2 separate regions of the Homo sapiens genome follow, and region 2 is linked to region 1. The links are contacts of gene promoters, found by promoter capture Hi-C in human tissues and cell types (Jung and others, 2019). All regions are on one chromosome and are shown on one strand. Each heading gives the region's core, a stretch centred on a gene start or on the middle of the fragment in contact. The rest is flanking DNA. Distances are from core to core; before and after follow the strand shown. Region 1 has its middle 19 kb from the start of SYT8. Region 2 holds the start of TNNT3 (troponin T3, fast skeletal type).

Region 1 (6,436 bases), core at 2,129-4,628:
CTCTCTCTAAGGCTCCACCACCTGCTAGACGCTCTCCTGCATCCCGCCTCACCCATCGCGCCTGCCGGTTCTGCCTCCCGCATGCTTTTGTCTTCCTTCCAGTTCACGAATTCTCTTTCAAGGGGCACCCACTTGCTAGCAGGTCCGTTTCCGCCACCACCGAGGTTTTTCTATTTTTTAATTCTAGAATTTCCATTTGATTCTTTTTCATAATTTCAAGTTTTATGCCAGATTTGGTTTATCTAATTTCTTGAAGATAAGACTCAGAGTTACATTAAAGAGATACATGACAATATTCCCCGTGCAATGGCTCATGTGAGACAGCCCCCCAGCCATAACAAAGCAAGGGGTCCGTTTCCCCGGGGGACACGTTCCAGGACCCCCCCAGTGGATGCTGGACACTGGGGACGGCAGACAGCCCTGAACCCTCTATATACACACCTGTGTTAAAGTTTAATTTATAAATTAGGCACAGTAAGAGATTCACAATAACCGACAGTAAAAGAGAACAATTGTAAGAGTATACTGCAACAAAGTTACGAGATGTGGCCTATGTTGCGCTCACCCTTCTTCCTGTGAGGCAAAAGGGATGGAGCCCGCAGGGCACGAGAGCTCCTCGTGCTACTCAGAACACTGCACAATTTGGAACTTACAAGGCGGGGCCTGGTGGCTCATGCCTGTAACCCCAGCACTTTGGGAGGCCAAGGCAGGTGGATCACCTGAGGTCAGGAGTTCGAGACCAGCCTGGGCAACATGATGAAACCCTATCTCTACTAAAAATACAAAAATCAGCCAGGCGTGGTGGTGGGTGCCTGTAATCCTAGCTACTCAGGAGGCTGAGGCAGGAGAATTGCTTGAACCCAGGAGGCAGAGGTTGCAGTGAGCCAAGACCGCACCACTGCACTCCAGCCCAGGCCACAGAGAAAGACATTGTCAAAAACAAAAAACAAAAAACAAACAAACAAACAAAAAAAAAAACCTTATGAATTGCATCTTTCTGGAATTTTCCATTTAATGTTTTCAGACCATACTTGGCCATCGGTAACTGAACCCACAATGAGGGGTGACTACTGTGGCACAGCTCGAACAGCGAGAATCTGTTGTCTCTCAGTCCCGGAGGCTGGAGTCTGAGATCAACCTGTGGCAGGGCTGTTTCTTCCCAGGCCGCTCTCCATGGCTTGCAGACGCTGCCTTCTCCCTGTGTGCCCTCAGAGCCGTCCCTCGGTGTGTGTTTGTCCTTACCTCTCCTTCTTGTAGGGACACAGCCACACTGAATTAGGGCTTTCCCTGGAGACCTCATTTTAACTTAATTGCCACTTTAAAGATTCCATCTCAAACAGCCTGACTAACATGGTGAAACCCCATCTCTATTAAAAATATAAAAAATTTAGCCAGGCGTGGTGGCACACACCTGTAATCTCAGCCACTTTGGGAGGCTGAGGCAGGATAATCACTTGAACCCACCCGGGAGGCATAGGTTGCAGTGAGCCGAGATTGTGCCACTGCACTTCAGCCTGGGTGACAGAGTGAGACTCTGTCTCAAAAAAAAACAAAAAGAAGATCCCATCTCGAGCTACAATCACATCGTTAGGCACCGAGAACTAGGATTGCAACATGTGAATTTTGAGAGGACACAATTTAGCCCATAACACAACTGCTCAAAGCGCATTTGGGAGGTTGCAGAAGTGAAAGGATTTCTGTGTCCCCAAACCGGGGGCCCACAGGGGCCGCCTTCTCTATGACCAGACCTCATGCAGAAAGACTTTGATTTGAAAGTGAGATCAGACCCGTCTCCTGGAGGCTGCAAGCTCCGGGGGAGTCAGGAATGGAATAGGATCTCAGGTCCTTGGGCAGCACCCGACCCCCGACGGCAGCGCCAGTGTGTCCCAAAGAGGAGCCTGCAGGGAAGAGATGCTGATGTTGAACGGGGCCAGGCCATGGTGCATGGCGAGCCTGAGTGGCACTGTGTTAGGACAAACAAGAAATCCTCCCCTTGCAGAAGGCTCTGGGCCTGGGCCTTGCCTGTGTCCCCTCCCCTGCAAGGAACCACCCTTCCTCCATGGAGGGGCAGCTTGGTGGGCCTGTCCATCAACTGGTGGCTGTGGCCATGCTCCCCGAGAAGGAAGACCGTGTCATTCCAGGGACTGCTCATGGGCTCCCGGACCAGGAAGCCTGAATGGGCTCTTTGGTTCTTTCTTCTGGTCTGACGGCTGCCCCTCCTTCCAATAAATGCCCTCTTTTCTTCCTGGCTTAAGTTCGCCAGCTTCAGTTTGTGTTATTGCAACCAGAGAGCCTTAACCATCCCCAGGGCTCTGTGATGATTCCACTGGAATTTCCCGGTGGTGGTGGGGCACTGAGGCCCTGGGGAGGCTACGGCCCTAGGAGGCTGGGCCTGGGGCATGGGCGGCCAGGAGCCTGCTGGGTGGCTGGGCGCTCTGGGCATCACGTCCAGGGCCTTCCCGGGAGAAAGGCCAGATACAGGCCCAAACACCAAGCTCTTTCCCTCCCTTCCCCAGGAGAAGGGCCCCATGGGAGCAGGGGTGTCTCCTTCCATAAACGGACAGGGGCTGGGCTCACGTGTGAGTCCCCTAGAAGGGGTGACAACTTCTGGCCTTTCTGAGAATACTCCAGGATGACAAGGTGGGGAGATGTGGAGCTGCAAGAAGTGCTAGCATGTTCCTCGGGAATGAGGAGATCTCAGAGTCATGAGGGCTTAACCCACATTGTAGTGGGCCCAGGAATGGGACTAACTTCTGGATAAACTCAGGGAGAATGCACCAGAAGACAGCAGCCCACAGAGCTGCCTTGCCACGCATTCCCGGGATGAAGGCAGCTGAGGCAGGAGCTCTAGGCTGGCTAAGAACACAGGTGTCATCCAGGACCACTTGATGTCAGCTGGGGCCACCCAAACTGCCTCAAAACCTACAAACGGTGGCTGTGTTGGCCATGCATGGGGCACCCCATGTAAGAGCAAATGGCGCAGGTGACCCACCTGTTGGAGTGGGTCTGGTTGGACAAACCAAGGGGTGTCCACGCTGGGGAGCCTCTGTGGCTGACAGTGGGTGAGAGGCTCTGGGCAAAGCTGTGGCTGGTCTCCCAGACCCGTGTCTGGGGCACTCAACATGGGGCAGACCAGATGGGGATTAACACACTGTCGTTTACTAAGAAAGGTTTTGGGGTGTGAATAAATATCTTTTAAAAGATGGAACTGTCAATCAAAGCTTGCAAAAAGAGACCGGGCGCCATGGCTCATGCCTGTAATCCCAGCACTTCGGGAGGATGAGGCGGGCAGATCACATGAGGCTAGGAGTTTGAGACCAGCCTGGGCAACATGGCGAAATCCCGTCTCTACTAAAAATACAAAAATTAGCCAGGTGAGGTGGTGGGCGCCTGCAGCCCCACCTACTCAGGAGGCTGAGGCAGGAGAACGACTTGAACCCAGGAGGCGGAGGTTGCAGTGAGCCGAGATCACACCACTGCACTCCAGCCTGGGCAATACAGCAAGACTCTGTCTCAAAAAAATAAAAATAAAGCTTGCAAAAAGGGGCAAGGGGCACCTGAAAGAGACAGCAACCAGGATGCTGAGCAACCTGCCTGTGCCCTGTAGTTTTTTCAGTCATAAAACAGTTCACATAAAACAGTTCACAGTCATAAAACGGTTCAGATAAACGTATGCACTCCAAGAAGTCAAGAAAGAAACTTAAAATCCTGTAGGTAAATTAGAAATATCAGTATGATTCCATGATATATTTACCTTTAAAAATATATATTTCCAGCTGGGCCACAGTGGCTCACTCCTGTAATCCCAGCACTTTGAGACGCCTAGGCGGGTGGATCACTTGAGGTCAGGGGTTCAAGACTAGCCTGGCCAACATGGTGAAACTCTGTCTCTACTAAAAATACAAACATTAGTTGGGCATGGTGGTGCATGCCTGTAATCCCAGCTACTCAGGAGGCTGAGGCAGGAGAATTGCTTGAACCCAGGAGGTGGAGGTTGTAGTGAGCTGGGATCATGCCACTGCACTCCAGCCTGGGTGACAGAGCAAGACTTTATCTTAAAAAAACAAAACAAAAAAAAGTTATTTCCTAAGCCAGTCAAAAAAAGAAAAAAGAAAAGACAAATACTGTATGATTCTATTTGTATGAGGTCCCTAGAGTAGTCAAATTTATAGTGACAGAAAGTAGGATGGCGAGTGCCAGGGGCTGGGGGAGGTGGAGGGGGAGTTGGATTTAATGGGAGCAGAGCTGCTGCTTTTCGAGACAAAAGGCATTCTGGAGCTGGATAGTGGGATGACAGCAGCGCGAATGTACTGAATGCCACGGAACTGTGCACTTAGAAGATGGTAAATTTTGTTACACATATTTTACCACCATACAAAAACTGGAAAAATAGGTCTTGCCTAATTCTGTCCACAGTAAAAGCTTAGAAACAATGAAAATAGACTAGTAGCAATGAGCACCCTGGCACCCAAAGTGGGACCTCTAAATACCCACCAAACTCCCTTCAAAAAGAACCGTGAACCCTTGGAGAAATGACTGGTTCTGGGCTGAGCCATGACATAGCCATGACATAAGATAAACCTGGAACTTCTCATTGCATCAGAAAGCTAAGAAACAATCAAAGACTACTGAGGTCATTTCAAGATGACATACCAGTCAACTTAAATGTATCCCCATTGACCAAATGTGGGACCACATGGTCACCAGTAAAGACAATAAGTTCAATGAATGGAAGGGCATTGTGTCAGGCACACCCTAATGCGGCCTCCAGTGAGTAATGGCCTTATTTAATCCCCTGCCCTGAGGCAGGGCAGAATCTGTGATTTTTCTTTGACTGAGAGATTAAAGCAAAAGTGAAGAGACTTTGCAGATATAATTAAGTTCCTAACCAGTTGACTTTGAGTTAATCAAAAGGAGATTTTTCTCAGTGGTCCTGACTTAACAGGCAAGCCCTTTGTAAGAGAGTCTAGGGCTTCTCTGAAGTTAGAGACTCGAAGGGGCAGAGACCCTCTCTCTCTGTTGCTGGCTTTGAAGGAGGAAGCTGCCATGAATTCTGCAACTTCATGGAAATAAGTTCTGCCAAAACCTAAATGAGCCTGGAAGCTGCTCCCTCCCTAGTTGGGTCTCCAGATGAGAACACAGCCTGGCTGACAGCTTGATCTCAAGCTAGTGAGACCCTGAGTGAGGAATCTGGCTAAGCTATACCAGGACATCTGGCATACAGAAGTGCATATACTAAATGGGAGCTTTATGTTTGTGGCAATTTGTTCCACAGCCATTGAGAATTACTGCACACATTCAATACAGTACATTTAAGTAATATACTTCAATTTATGATTTCACAATAATATATATTTAAAATAATCAATATTTTTCTCTGCCTTCCCTGTACCAAATATTTGATGTGGGAAAGTGTATCTTTAGAAGAACTCTTGCAAATAAATGCTGAAGAAATACCAAGTTTAGAAAATTGCAATTTTGCAACCCCTAATGAAATGATGGATCTAGGGCAGTGGTCCTCAACTGGGGGCAGTTTTGCCCCTCTGGCAATATCTACAGGTATTTTTGATTGTTGTAACTGAGAGTTGCTGTAGGGATCAGGGATGCTGACAAATATCCTAAAGTGCACAGGACAGCCCCACAGCAAACATTATCTGGCTGGGTTAGAAAGACCCTAAGGTGAACCACAGTGATTTCTGCTTCCTGTTGGCTGTGCTTCTGTGTTGTCCCCTCTCCTTGAAAGTGTTAACCAACAGAATATGGCAAAGGTGGTAGATGTCACACCTGGGATTATATTATAGTATATAATATTCTGGAGTCACTCTCTCTGTCTCCTGCTGGCCTTGAAGAAGCAAGAGCCATGTGTGAACTGCCTTTGAGGGGCCCACAAGACTGGGAACTATGGGTGGCCTGCAGGAAGTGAGGACCTCAGTGCTACAACCACAAGGACCTGAATTCTACCAACAAGCTAAGTGAATGCAAAGCAGGCCCTGTCCCAGTTGGACCTTCAGATGAGAATGCAGCCCCAGCTGACACCATGGGATCCTGAGGTAGAGAACCCAGCTAAGTTGTGCCCCAGGCTTCTACCCACAAAAACTGTGAGATAAGAAACATGTGTTGTTCTAAGCCACTAAGTTTGTGGCAATTTGTTCCACACCATAGAAAACTAACAGCCTGGCCCCAAATGCCCACAATGCCAAGACTGAGAAACCTAACTTAGGGCTTGTTGTTGTGGTTGTTTTCTACAAGGGCTGAGTTGCAAACACATCTGTCTTTGCAGGCCATTTGCTCTCTGTCATTGTGTCTGTTTTTTATCACTGTGTAATAAATCACCACAAACCCAGCTGTGAAACAAATCCTGTGCATCCTGTGGAACAGAGCTCTGGGCATTCCTGTAGGGCTTTTTCCTTAGGTCCTCACTGGCTGAGAGCAGATG
Region 2 (6,436 bases), core at 2,819-5,318, 100 kb after region 1:
GTGTTGTGGGGGGTGATGTTATGTGTGTGTGTTTTGGGGGGGTGATGTTTCTGTGTGTGTGTGTGTTGTGGGGAGGTGTGTGTGTTGGGGTGATGAGTGGATGTGTGGATGGATGGATGGAGGGAGGGATGGATGGATGAAGGGAGGGTGGATGAAGGGAGGGAGGGAGGGATGGATGGATGCATGAATGGGTAGATGGATAGATGAAGAGATGGATGGATGGATGGATAGACAGGTAGATGGATGGGTAGATAGATGGATAGGTGGGTGGATGAATGGATGGATAGACTAATGATGGATGGATGGATGGATGGCGGGAGGGATAGATGAAATGGAGGGATGAGTGGATGGGTAGGTGATTGTATGGGTGGTTGAAAGGATGGACAGACGGAGGGATGGATGATGGAAGAGAAGGAGGGAGGAAGGAAGGAAAGGAAGTGGTGAAGGTGAGAGTGAATGCATGGGAATGAATAGATGGGTGGATGAATGGACAACTGTGTGAAATAGCAGACAGCCTGGGGACACCCTCCCTCCTGTCCCTCCTCTCCCAGGTCTTGCACTGGGCCCTGACACTCAGCCCTGCAGCCTTCAGCGTCTGGGAAGTCCCTTCGAGGAGCAGCACCCCAGACTCTGATGTTCTGGACTTCACTTTGCCATTCCCTTGGGTCCTCACAGCCACTATTTTCTGAAGGCTTCATGTCAAACCCTGCTTGCCTCATGAATACACACAGTTCAGAAAAGCAAAACCTCGACAGAGCCACCACCCACACAAGGGAGGTGACGTGCCCCCATCCTTTCTCAGATGCCCCAGCCACTGAGAGAGGATCCAGGCCACCCTCCCCAGCTGGGGAACCACCCAGTGACAGCACTCCCCTTGTTTCCCACCTGATCCGCTTGGGACGGTGACCAAGGGCAGCCGAGAGGCAGGCCCAAAGGCCACAGTTGGGCACTCAGCACTGGGGTGCAGAGTGGACAGCACCAGGGGCAGGGGGTAGTTGGGGTCAGCAGTGCTGAGGAGGCAGCCACTGCCCACCCCGCCCCCGACCAGCCCTGGCCCCTTGTCAGATCATCTGCACCCCTCGGCTCAGCCTCGAGAACAAGGACCCAGGGCCTGTCCCTCTGAGCTCTACCCAGCCACAGCCCTGCTGTGTTTCTGATGCAGCCTCCCGTCCACGGCCACAGCAACCCCATGCCCCTGCTCCTGGAAACCTGGAGGTCAGGCCATGCCCAATGCGGAGGTCAGGAGGCTCAAAAGGCCTGCAGCCTAAGAGGCCCCTGGCCAGGGATGGCAGATGAAGCCCCTAGCCTCTGTCCTGCCTGCCAGAGCAGCCACCAGACACCCTGTGACCCTTGCTACAAGCCCCTAGGCCAGCCACAGAGAAGACACCCATCATATCTGCAGAACGAGTCAATGAAACTGCAAAATCAGAAGCACTAGGCATGTGGGGAGGCAGCTACCTAGGGCTGGAGCAGCTCAGTTCCCAAGTGCTGTGTCAGCTGCTCCTGTCCTGGGCCTGGCAGTGATTGAGCCCACAGCTGGGCCGAGCGGCCTCAGGCTGGATCCAGCCTGGGGGCTCAGGTCAGCTCAGGGCATGAGGAGAGGCTCAGGACCCTCTTGGTCTCCACCACCCCCAACCATGCGCACTGGGTGCTGGGACCTAGATTGAGGGGCCCCGGCCACCATCTGGGGGCCACCCAGGCAGGGAGCTGCAGCCAAGACACTCAGGAGGCCATCCTCCCTCCCACAGCCTGCTCCCCACTCCCTGGGCTTGGCTCAGCATTTGCCAATTTCAGAACCCCCCCATCCCCCAACAACTGCCCTAGAGCCAAGGCCCCGTGGTCCGTCCTCAGACTCCTCCTGGGTGGAAATGCGTCCCCAACCCAGGCTGGGCCTCCCTTGTGCCCTGCCCCCACCCAGGTCTACAGTCCCCCAGGAGGCCCCTGCCCTGCCTCCTCTCCTTGGACCATCCCGGTCCGGCCAGATGGCAGCAGGGCATGGGTTACCTGGTGCAGGCCCTCGAGGCCGCTGGTGCCTGCTCTGTGCAGTCCCTGCTACGCCTCAGGCCCAGCGCCCGAGGGGGAGGTCGCCGATACCCAAAATAAAACCTGCCCTATCCCTCTGACCTCAGCTGGCTGGGCGGAGAGCGCCTGCCAAAGCTCCAGGAGCTGGGCGGGCAGCACCTTCCCCTGCTGGCCACACGGGGCCAGTGCAGGGTTATGGCACACCCACCTTCAGGTGCGCCCCTCAGGACCCCTGGCCTGGGTGAGGGCTTGGGTGGGCACAGGCTTCCTAGGCCTGCAGACTGAACCACGTGTAACCAGAATGGTGGGCTCAGGGCTCCGTTAGAGAAGCCGGCAGAGCGAGCCTGGAAAAGGAGGTTGGCCCCACCATGGGAGAGGATGGGGTGGGCCCGCTGACCCCCAGGGACCCGCTCACGTGCCTCTGAGGGAGCAGTTCTGCAGATGTCCCCAGTGGGCAGGAAGCTGGTCACAGATATCCAGGGGCCAGGGCTGTTTGTGGCCCCCAAAGCCTTGCCCATCGAGGACATGGACAGGGAGGGGAAGGCGTGGAATGCAGACGAAGCCACAGACCCAGAGCAGGAGGACGGCGACGTTCCCAGCAACCCCAGCTCCAAGAGCCTTCCCAGTGCCGGGCACTCAGCGGGAGGCAGGCAGGGGACCGGCCCTGTCCTTTGAAATGGCAGCCTGGGGCCAGCCCGCCTTGTCGTGTGACCCCAGGCACACCTTGCCTGTCCCTGGGCTCTGCGGCCTCGCTCTTCCATGGAGGGGTGGAATGAGGTGCCAACCACAGCCTTCCGGAAGGCCCCCGACCCGGCCCCAGGGCACTGTGAGCCCCTGCCGGGTTATCCTGTTGTCCCTGACTCTAAGCCTGGGGAGGACAGGGACCTCATCTGTGCCTCTCGGGACTCACCCCTGTCCTGGGCGCTGGCCAAGAAGGAACCAATCTGTGCCTGAACCGAAGAGTTCCGCAGACACCACCGCCCACGCTCAGCCTGTGGGGTCTGAGGGGAGTGAGGGGGTGGGTCAGGGTGCCAGACTGCTCTCCCCCACCTGGTGCCTCAGTTTCCCTGATCCAAGAGGCAGGGTTATCCAATCTGGTGGCCTCACTGGCCAGCATACAGGCCATCAGAGGCCAGGAAGGATGTCTGCTAGTCGGACGGTGCCACCTGGAGTCCTGAGGAAAGAAAACCAGTCTCCACACGCCACAATGAGCCTGTGGGAGATGCTGGCACAGATGGTAACGGCCACTGCGAGTGCCCAGGGTGGGGCCCCAGGGTTAGAAAGGGCCTAGAGGGAGGACCCAGACCCTTACCCAGCAAACTCCATGTGTAGCCCCCTGCAATGGCAGCAGCCCCGGGGGGAGGTATGGCAGACTCGGACTGCAGCCAGCCTGGCCATGTCCCTCGCCCGCTTATTGTGTAGGCCCCAACGGTGTCTAGCCAGGAAAGCAGAGCTGGCCTCTAAGAGGGTCTCAGATAGGGTGGGGGCCTGGCCTCAGTTCCATGGGGGGTCTCCGAGGCCTCAGGCTGCTTCCTCCCCGGGGGAGACAGCGAAGGGCCTGGGGCATTGGGCCGGGCGGCGGGAGGGGACCCCGGCTGTGCGGACCCTTTTCCTGGACAAATGTTTACTCCCACAGAACATCTCAGAGAGAAGGGGCGGGGGGGTGGGAAACCCGGCAGCCTGGCTCTGGGGACCCCCACACTAGTTTGGCCCAAAGAGAGCCTCGGCTTGGTGCCCCGGGGCCACCCAACACCTTCCTCCTCCCTCCTCAGCCCATCCAGAATGTACCCGCTGCTGGGAGTAAAAATAGCAGCTGACACCTCCTGGAGGCGGAGGGAGGACCTTGCCTCCTTCTCCAAGCACGTCCTCTGCATCCTGGCCTCCTTCAGCCTCCTCCTCTGGCCATTCCTATACTTGGTAAGGGGCCTGCACGGGCATAGCCCCCCCCAGCAAGACTCCGCACACACCCCGGCCACCCAGTCACTGGCCAATGGGCTCCTAGGAAGATCAAATGTCACTATAACACGAGGGTGTGAGCCGGGCGCCAGTGCCTGCAGCCGGTGCTGTCCACAGGGAGCTCCAGCCCTTCTCACACTCGACCCGCAGGTGGGTATAGGCAGGAGCGGCCACCCAGGACTGGGGCCGACGGGGCCTCCTGCGTGCGGGTGGACAGCCCCTCGTTCCAGGGACACTCTGGGGTCCTGGGGCGCTGAGGTCCCAGGTCCGTGTGGTGCCGAGCATCTCGAAGCATCATGGCTCGGAGCCCCCAGGTGGCTGCTCCAGCGTCCGGAGAGTCTGGGATGCGGACATGGTGGTGTGATGGTCTCAGCACCGGGAGGATGCAGAAGAAGGCAGAGTGTGGGAGGCCAGGAGGGGGCAAGTCGGGGCTCAGGGAAGCTCAGTGCTAGGGAGTGGCCTGAGGGCAGGAGGCAGAGAGGTGCGGGCTGTGAGCGGCAGGGAAGAGGCTGTGCAGGGGTGCTGCCAGGGCTTAGGTTGCCAGCTTGTGGTCGCCATGCAGACATTTGCCCAGGCCCGTCCTGGCCTTGCCATGCAGCTCTCGCACCTGGGCCTCCAACACCGCCATTTTGTAGAGATGAAAACGAGGACAGGAGGGCAGGGGCTCCTGTATGGCCAGCCCGAGTGTGTTGGGGTGGGGGCGTCTAAAGCCCACGCAGCCTTGGGGGCCAGCGTCTGGAGGTGCAGGACAGAAGTGGACAGGGGCTGGACTGGGGCAGGACGGGGCAAGAGTGAGGGGCTGGGCTTCATCGCGTCCCCCTGGCTGGAGGCTGGAGAAGCTGGCGCTCGTAAGAGCCCCCACCCACCCTCCCTGCCCTGGACACGGTCCCCCTGACTTGTGCCGTCTGATCAGGCCTTGGCTGCCCCTCCTGAAGTCCACGGAGGGACATGGGGCAAAGCAAAGGTTGGCTGGGTGGAGAACAGGTCTGGGGGCATGGTCAGGGCCACAGCAAGCAAGGGGCAGCGGCTTTTGCCTCCCCACCCTGCCCTGGCCCCGTCACCTCCCAAGGAGGGAAAGGTGATGCATACGTGCCCGAAGAAACTGACCGCATAGGTTATTTTCACGCAGCCCCTCCAAGGCAGGCACTAACTGGACACCTGCTTTGCGTCTCAGCTGTTGAAATGCCATCCCCTGCCCCCAGCACACCCCTGCCCCCAGCACACCCCTGCCACCAGCCCCTCCCCGCAACAGAGGCAATGACACAGGCCATACTGGGGGGAACAGAACAGCCTTGTGTTGCTTCCAGGCGCTCAGCAGAAAACCAGGTGCCTCAGTTTCCCCACTTGGAGAGTGGGCCTTTCCAGCGCACGTCGGGGGGCCTGGAGGTCACCCTGCCTGAGGGTGTTGGGGCACCCATGTGACTCTGGCCTGGGGGGACAGGAGGGAAATATGAGGAGCTGGGGAGGGCCTGGGTGCCCGAGGGTGAGGGGGCAGCTGTGGGCCAAGGAGGGCTGGGCTGTCACACCCGCCTCACCCACGTCTTGGGTTTCTGGGCAGAAACGTCTTGCCTATTTCTGGACACCTCAGCTGCCACTGGCTCCTTATAAATAACCCACCCCAGGCGAGGGCCACGCTGCCCCCATCTTGTGGCAGCCGACAGGTGTCTGCCCCGCCAGCGTCGGGCTGGGCACAGCAGGGCGGGGCCAGGCTCCGCTCCCTCCCTTCACTGACCCTCCTCCTCCTTACAGAGGATGGCCCTAGAGGAGTCTGTGGCGTTTGGGGCCTGAACCAGCTGGGAGGACAGCACGAGGGGCTGGTGGGCAGCCTGGGACTGGGTCACACCGGGGGCCTGGACAACACTGGCTCGTGGGGCTGAGGACTGAGGAGAGCCTGGCCCAGCCGTGGCAGTTACAAGAGGCTTAACCTGAGGGGCAGCAGAGTCTCAGGAAGAGATTCTGGGATAGGAAAAAGCTACCCCCGTTGCCTGGAAGACAGCTATCTGCTGGGTAATTTTGCATGGAGCTTAAGTTGCTCTGGGAAAATTAACATTCTTGACAGAGGGTTTGGAAAACGGTTCCCACCTCAGCAGTGCAACGTAGATGCATTTTTAGCTGATGAACGTGTGTTTTCCTTATACAACACTCCCAGGGGGGACCGTAGCTATTGTCTTCGAGTAATCTGTACTGTGTTGTAATGAACTTTGTTTTCTAAAACCCTGGCCAACATGCCGGTGCAGCTGCTCAGAGCCTCCCCAGGCCTGGCCGCCCAGTGTGCACGGTGGCCAGCTCACAGAGAGACGGTCCCCAGCATGCTGGCCTGGCGCCACCACCGCACATGGACAGGGCAGCCAGTCCTGGGCATGGAGCTTCCCCTAGACAGGGACAGATCCAGAGCATCCCCGGGACCAGGGAAAGCGGCCACAGGGAGGGAAATGGGGGGGCTGTTCTGTGGGCTCCT

What was found. The method cuts DNA at HindIII sites, captures the fragments that hold promoters and counts their contacts. A contact is called where the count stands out against the background at its distance.
Region 2: the fragment with the promoter of TNNT3 here is called in contact with a fragment that was not itself captured in region 1 in 2 of the 25 tissues and cell types used here (liver and pancreas).

The regions. Positions count from the first base shown.
Region 1 is chr11:1,812,959-1,819,394 of GRCh38, forward strand. No RefSeq gene overlaps it. Among named protein-coding and RNA genes, the nearest start is that of SYT8, 19 kb to the right of the region's middle. The HindIII fragment of the contact is 5,465 bases long and covers 647-6,111 here.
Region 2 is chr11:1,915,635-1,922,070 of GRCh38, forward strand. TNNT3 (troponin T3, fast skeletal type) reads left to right here and starts at 4,069. Exons shown (of 16, transcript NM_006757.4): 1 at 4,069-4,128. It also overlaps a transcript of PRR33 not described here. RefSeq lists a silencer at 787-836 and an enhancer at 1,387-1,436. The HindIII fragment of the contact is 33,765 bases long and covers 1-6,436 here.